Regions from separate parts of the Homo sapiens genome. Here region 2 is linked to region 1. The links are contacts of gene promoters, found by promoter capture Hi-C in blood cells and fetal thymus (Javierre and others, 2016). All regions are on one chromosome and are shown on one strand. Each heading gives the region's core, a stretch centred on a gene start or on the middle of the fragment in contact. The rest is flanking DNA. Distances are from core to core; before and after follow the strand shown.

Evidence for each region. Contacts are between HindIII fragments. The CHiCAGO score rates a contact against its expected background, and 5 or more counts as called.
Region 2: a contact is called between the fragment with the promoter of SCYL1 here and the fragment with the promoter of TM7SF2 in region 1, in 1 of 17 cell types (naive B cells). The highest score is 5.3, in naive B cells.

Annotation. Positions count from the first base shown.
Region 1 is chr11:65,110,502-65,113,270 of GRCh38, reverse strand. TM7SF2 (transmembrane 7 superfamily member 2) reads right to left here and starts at 1,399. Exons shown (of 10, transcript NM_003273.6): 1 at 1,204-1,399; 2 at 560-756; 3 at 406-460; 4 at 1-51. The coding sequence starts at 1,255. VPS51 (VPS51 subunit of GARP complex) reads right to left here. Exons shown (of 10, transcript NM_013265.4): 8 at 2,668-2,769; 9 at 2,490-2,577; 10 at 1,409-1,944. The coding sequence ends at 1,684. RefSeq lists silencers at 588-1,017, 2,283-2,458 and enhancers at 1,148-1,197, 1,268-1,377, 1,300-1,594, 1,291-2,216, 2,217-2,769. The HindIII fragment of the contact is 11,666 bases long and covers 1-2,769 here.
Region 2 is chr11:65,523,564-65,526,332 of GRCh38, reverse strand. It overlaps SCYL1 (SCY1 like pseudokinase 1), which reads right to left and starts at 1,250. Exons shown (of 18, transcript NM_020680.4): 1 at 1,069-1,250; 2 at 619-759; 3 at 290-412; 4 at 1-209. The coding sequence starts at 1,179. RefSeq lists a silencer at 903-1,402. The HindIII fragment of the contact is 5,249 bases long and covers 119-2,769 here.

The DNA.
Region 1 (2,769 bases), core at 150-2,649:
CTGACATCCCCAGCCCCACCAACAGGGCTGTCAGCACCAGGGCCTGGAAGCCTGAACCACAGCGCACAGTGAGCCCTGGGGCTGCGCGCCTCCACATCCCCACCCCGCAAACACACGCAGAGCCCAAAACTCAGGGGGGCCACAGACCCTGCCCCAAGCATTAGGCTGCCACCCTGGCCTTCAGAGGATCACCCCAGCCACTGCTGTGGTGCACGGAGTAGCAGTAAATGGGGTAAGGCTGTGGGGACGAGGGGCATAGGGAGAGCCCCCGGCGTCTGTCCTGGGCGTAACAGAGGCACACAAAGGAGCCTGGGGTGGGGGCCAATCTCCGTGGACCTCCCCGCTAGGCCTGGAGCTCCACCCCCGGCCGCTTAACTCCAGCGCGAGGGCCCGTCCCCTAGGCACCGTTAATAGGATAGCGCAGGCGACTCTTGTCCTTCAATTCCTGCCCCTCGGCCACCTGCGGGTCCAAGGGGGCTCTGATAAGGCCCGGGGCGTCCTTTCCCTCGCCGAGCCCATTCGCTTCCCTCCCCCGAGCGTCCGCGAGCGGGGCCCGCACCTTGCGCGCCGGCAGTAGGTAGAGCGCCGCCTGCAGGCCGAGCCAGGCGAGCCACAGCAGCAGCGCCCGTGGGCTCCACAGCACCTCCAGCCCCGGCAGGGACGCGGGTGGACCCAGCAGGCGCGCGGGGCCCGAACGGGCCGCCAGGAGCAGGTGGAACATGGTGGCGGGCAGCAGCAGTAGCAGAGCCGCGGCGCCTGCGGGAAGGGCCATCACGTCGGGCGTCCGCCCCTAGCCCCCCAGCTCCCCGCCGGCCCGCACGGGCGCCCTGACGTCTCTGCGGGACCCTCTCGGCATTCCCAGAGTGCGCCTCCGCACCCCGTCCTCAGCCCTCGGCCCCCAGGCACCCCGCTGCCTCCCAGTTCCCTTCCCAGGCGTCCATCTTAGTCCCCCGCCCCCAGGCCCCTCGAAGACCCTCCTCCTGCTCCCAGTCGACACCATAAATCCCCGTTCTGCAGCCCCCAGAACCGGCCCCTCCTCAGCTCTCCCTCTCCAGACACCCTTCGCTGCAAACCCCCGGGTCCCTCTGCCTCCGACACCCCCAAAGCCTTCCATCCTCAGATCTCGCCCCCGCTCTTAGTTCACCCGCTCCAGCTCTCCTTCGCTTAGCCTTTGCCCCAGGTCCCATCTCTCTGCCCCATTACCCAGGGGCCCTCCGAATTCCAGCGGGGCCCGGGGGCCCTGAGTGGGGGCCATGGTCTCCGCTCCGCCGGAGAGAGAGGGCGCTCACAATAGTCAGTCAAGGAAACACTGTCCGCCCCATTTCCCAGGAGATGGACTCGGCCGCGCGGAGGATCCGGCCCCGCGGCGCCTGCACCTGCCTGGACACGGAACGCAGACAAGGACCGCTCTCGTCCCAGGGTTTTTAAGTGGAACCGCCCCCTGCCCATGCTGGGCCCAGCACACCAGCCAATCGGCGCTCGGGGGCGGACCCGACGCGGGCGCCTCAGAAGCCTCAGCTTCAAAACCCCGCCCCCGGAAAGGCCCGCCCAGCAAGCGAGAGGAGGAGGCCACACATGTTTATTAGGCCGGTCCTGACACCTGCCTGCGGGGAAGGACCACCGAGACCAGATCCTGGGTGCCATGGGGTGCAGGGACAGACCGGTGCATGGCAGCGGCTGCGCCTAGCCGCGCTCGCAGATGACCTCAACCACACTGGGCTCCATGGGCACAGGGTCTGGGCAGCGCAGGGCAGCAGAGGCCACCACTTCGTCCAGCAGCAAGTGCACGAGTTCTTCGTCGGCCACAAAACGCCACAGGTAGAGCTGCAGAAAGTGGCAGTCCACTTGCACCTGCTGCAGCCCGAAGCGCCCAAAGGTGCGCAGCCGCACACACTCCAGCAGCGTCTTCAGGCTGATCTTGATGATGCCGGTCAGCACCGACACCTGCAGGCAGGGACACAGGGATGCAGCTTGGGGACTGCAGGTGTGTGTGGGGGACACCCAAGTTCCAAGCAGGGGCCCGGGAGACATACGATGGAAGTAGCTGGGATGAGGCAGAAAGTCTCCGGGGCCAGATAAGAAGGGAGGGATACAATATTAGCGCCGTCATCTGGAGGGCAGGGGACAGGTAGGGCCCAGCAATCAGAGGCATCCCTGAGCTTGGAGTGAGGCGGGGCAGGGACCATGGGTGAACAGAAAACCCTGGGGAGGACCCAAGACTACTGTGGGGATAAGGACAAGGGCAAACAGTAATCCCAGGTCAGCACCCAGACTCAGGCTGGGCATACACCAAGACTGGGACAAGGGCTGTGGGATTTGGAGGCAGGGCACTCTGTACTACCTAAAAACAGCCCTAGAGACAGAGACTGGAGGGTCAGGGTCACCCCCAGTTGGTCACAGAGTCCTGGGGCTCCTTGGGCAGGTGTGGGGCTGCTCCAGCCAACCCTCCCCGGGATCCCTGGAAGTCTGAGTCACGTTGGAAGTCGGACCTTGTTGAACTCCACAGGGCTGAACACATCAATACGTTCAGAGAATAGCTTCTGGATATTGCTCAAGAGGTTGGTGTCCATCGGGGCACTGGATTGGGGAAGACAAGGAATCAGAGCCCGCCCTGCACCCTCGCCCTCTTTTGTCCCTTCCCCCTGGGGCTCCCCTGACCAGCCAGACCTGGGGGTATAGCTGGGGGCGTAGCGGCCCTGCTGCCGAGAGCTGCTGTACACGGAGAAAGTCCTCTTGCTGGAGTCGCTGCTCTGGGCCTTGCGAACACCC
Region 2 (2,769 bases), core at 1-2,500, 410 kb before region 1:
CTGCCACTGCTGTCAGCCAACTCCGGGGGGTCATACTGCTCAAGCTCGGGGATCCCCTTGCGGGGAGGTCCCCCACCGTTGCCCTGGGCCGAATACATGTAGTCCAGGCCCCCAAGCTTCCACTCGCCAGCTCGGTCCACGAACACGGCGGCCATGCAGACATTGTTGTGGATGAGGCTGCAGTCGTTGACCAGGAAGCTGAGGGCTTTCTGGGGGCAAAAGGAGCCATCACGCCCCAGCACCTGCAACCCCCCATCCCTGCTCTCATCACCACTGCCCCCCACCTCACCACGATCTGGTGTAGCCCCCAGGAGATCTCCAGCTCCTTCAGGCCACCAGCCTCCACTCTCGCCTTGAGGTATATTCCCAACGGGGTCACAGCCTCTGTCACGACGTGGAGGCATTTTTCTGTCTGGGGAAGGGGACACAGGGTTATCAAGGGCGGAGGGGCAGAGAGGAAGGAGAGATAAGCGACTTGAAGTTGGGAGAGATGGGGAAGAGGAAACCAAATCTGGGGGTGCTGGGGCACATAGGGTGGAAACAGGGCAGGAGGGGAGACAGGAGTGGGTAACCAGGACATCGTGAGGGGCAGAGACGGGCAGGCAAGGCAGCAGGTACCTCCAGTCCATCGATGTAAGCCAGGATGTTGGGGTGCCGTAGAGTTTTGAAGCGCTTGAAGGCAGCTTTGGCCACCTGGGTCTGCTCTTCCGCGCCAGGCTTCACATCATAGACGAAGATGGACACGGGGCTGCCTGTGGCCTAGGGGAGGGCAGCGGGGCCTGAGATGGTCCCAGAGCTGTTGTGTGGCCGGAAGACAAGGGCCCGCAGCCAGGTCTCTCCCCAGGTCAGCCTTAGGGACACTTCGCCGGGCCCACGTGACCCCGGCCCTGTCCGCCTGTCGGTCCCTCGGTCCCTCCGCCCGCCACGTAGGCACTGCCCGCCCCCTCCCCGGCCTGCTACCCCTTGGTTCCGCCGCCACGTCAGGCCGGGCGCAACGCGACGGGGTCGGCGGCGCGGAATAGGCAAGGCCCAGGTCGACCGCGGCCTACGGAGCTCGGCCGCACTCACCTTCTTGCGGCCGCGGTGCAGGGCCCAGGGCCCGGGCAGGCCGCCCTCTGGGGGCTCCGGGATGAGCTCGAACGGAAAGTCCCGGACCGGGTCCCGGGCAAAGAACCACATCGTCCCCACCGCCGCCGCGGGTTCGGGCGCCTTAGCTCCGGGTCCTCCGGCCGCCCGAGCCGGGGCGGGGCGGAGAGGGGGCGGGGCCTGCGTCAGACGGGGGCGGGGCCCGGGGGCCAGGGCGGGGCCTACGTCGGGGCGGAGCAGGACGTGAATTGGGGCGGGGTGGGGCAGAACCTGAGTTGGGGCGGGAAGGGGCGGGGACAAGGGAGGGGCGGGAGAGGGGCGGGGATGGGGGGGCTAGGGAGGGGCGGGGATGGGGGGGCTAGGGAGGGGCGGGGATGGGGGGGCTAGGGAGGGGCGGGGCAGTCCGGGGCGGCGGGCGGTACTAAGATCAGTACTCCGCCGCCGGGTAAGTCACTTAAAACCCTCCAAGCCTGTGAGCCCTTTTATCTAAAGAGGCCTAAATCCTAAAGGATAATAGAGCCTGCCTTCTAGCGTACTGTAAGGATGAGAGCTTAAGAAGGGACAGAGGGATGGGGAAACCGAGGCAAAAAGGGGGAGAGGTAGAAAGACTGACAGGCATGAGAGGGTGCAGTGAGGAGTGAGGCAGAGACCCAGAGAGGGAGACTGGCCCCACGCCAGACACTCTCTCCCACCAGCAAGTGGGTGCCTCCAGGCTCCGGGGAGGAGTCGGTCCTGGTGAAGTGACCATGAGAGAAGCACGAGGAGACGCCCCAGAGAAAGAGCGTGGGTGAGAGGCAGAGAGTGAATCCAAGGTTCCAAGGAGGTCCAGAACCCCGGGGCAGGGGCGGGCACCCAGGGAATGGAGGAAGGAGAGACTGAGGAGGGAAGAAGAAGTGACCCCAGGAAAGGAGGGAGGGAGAAGGAGCAACTGGGCAGGTCTGGAAGAGGCCAAAGGGCTGGGAGGGGACCCTGCTCTCCTGGGCTCAGCTGCCCGGCTCTCAAGCCAACGGATTGCATCTCTCAGTGCCTGTGTAGACAGCCATGGAGTGGTGTTAGCTCAATCAGCACATCACACTGGTGGGGATCCAGCCCCTGAGCTGTGTAGGAGGGGCTGGACAGGCAGTGGTTCTTCTGCTGGTAGGGTCTCAGGACCCAGGCTTGGGGACAGTGCCTCAACCACAGCTATGGAGCACTGGTGAGATTCTGGGACTGGTTATGAAAAGTCTGGTTGGGATGCCTTTGGGAGATAACTCAAGGGCAGAGATGCCACAGTGAGACGGTGCTGGGTTTCAATCACGGTTCAGCCCCTCATTGGATGTGAGAACTCACACAGTTCCCTTTGGGTGCGTTAGGTCCCCCATCTATAAACTGGGGTGAGGGCCAGGCACAGTGGTTCACGCTTGTAATCTCAGCACTTTGGGAGGCCGAGGCTGGAGGATCACCTGAGGTCAGGAGTTCCAGGTCAGCCTGACCAACATGTTTGAAGGGGGCCTGCCCCTCCACACCTGTGGGTATTTCTCGTCAGGTGGAGACAAGAGACTGAGAAAAGAAATAAGACACAAAGTATAGAGAAAGAACAGTGGGCCCAGGGGACCGGCACACTCAGTATACGAGGACCTGCACCGGCGCTGGTCTCTCAGTTCCCTCAGTATTTACTGATTACTATTTTCACTATCTCTGCAA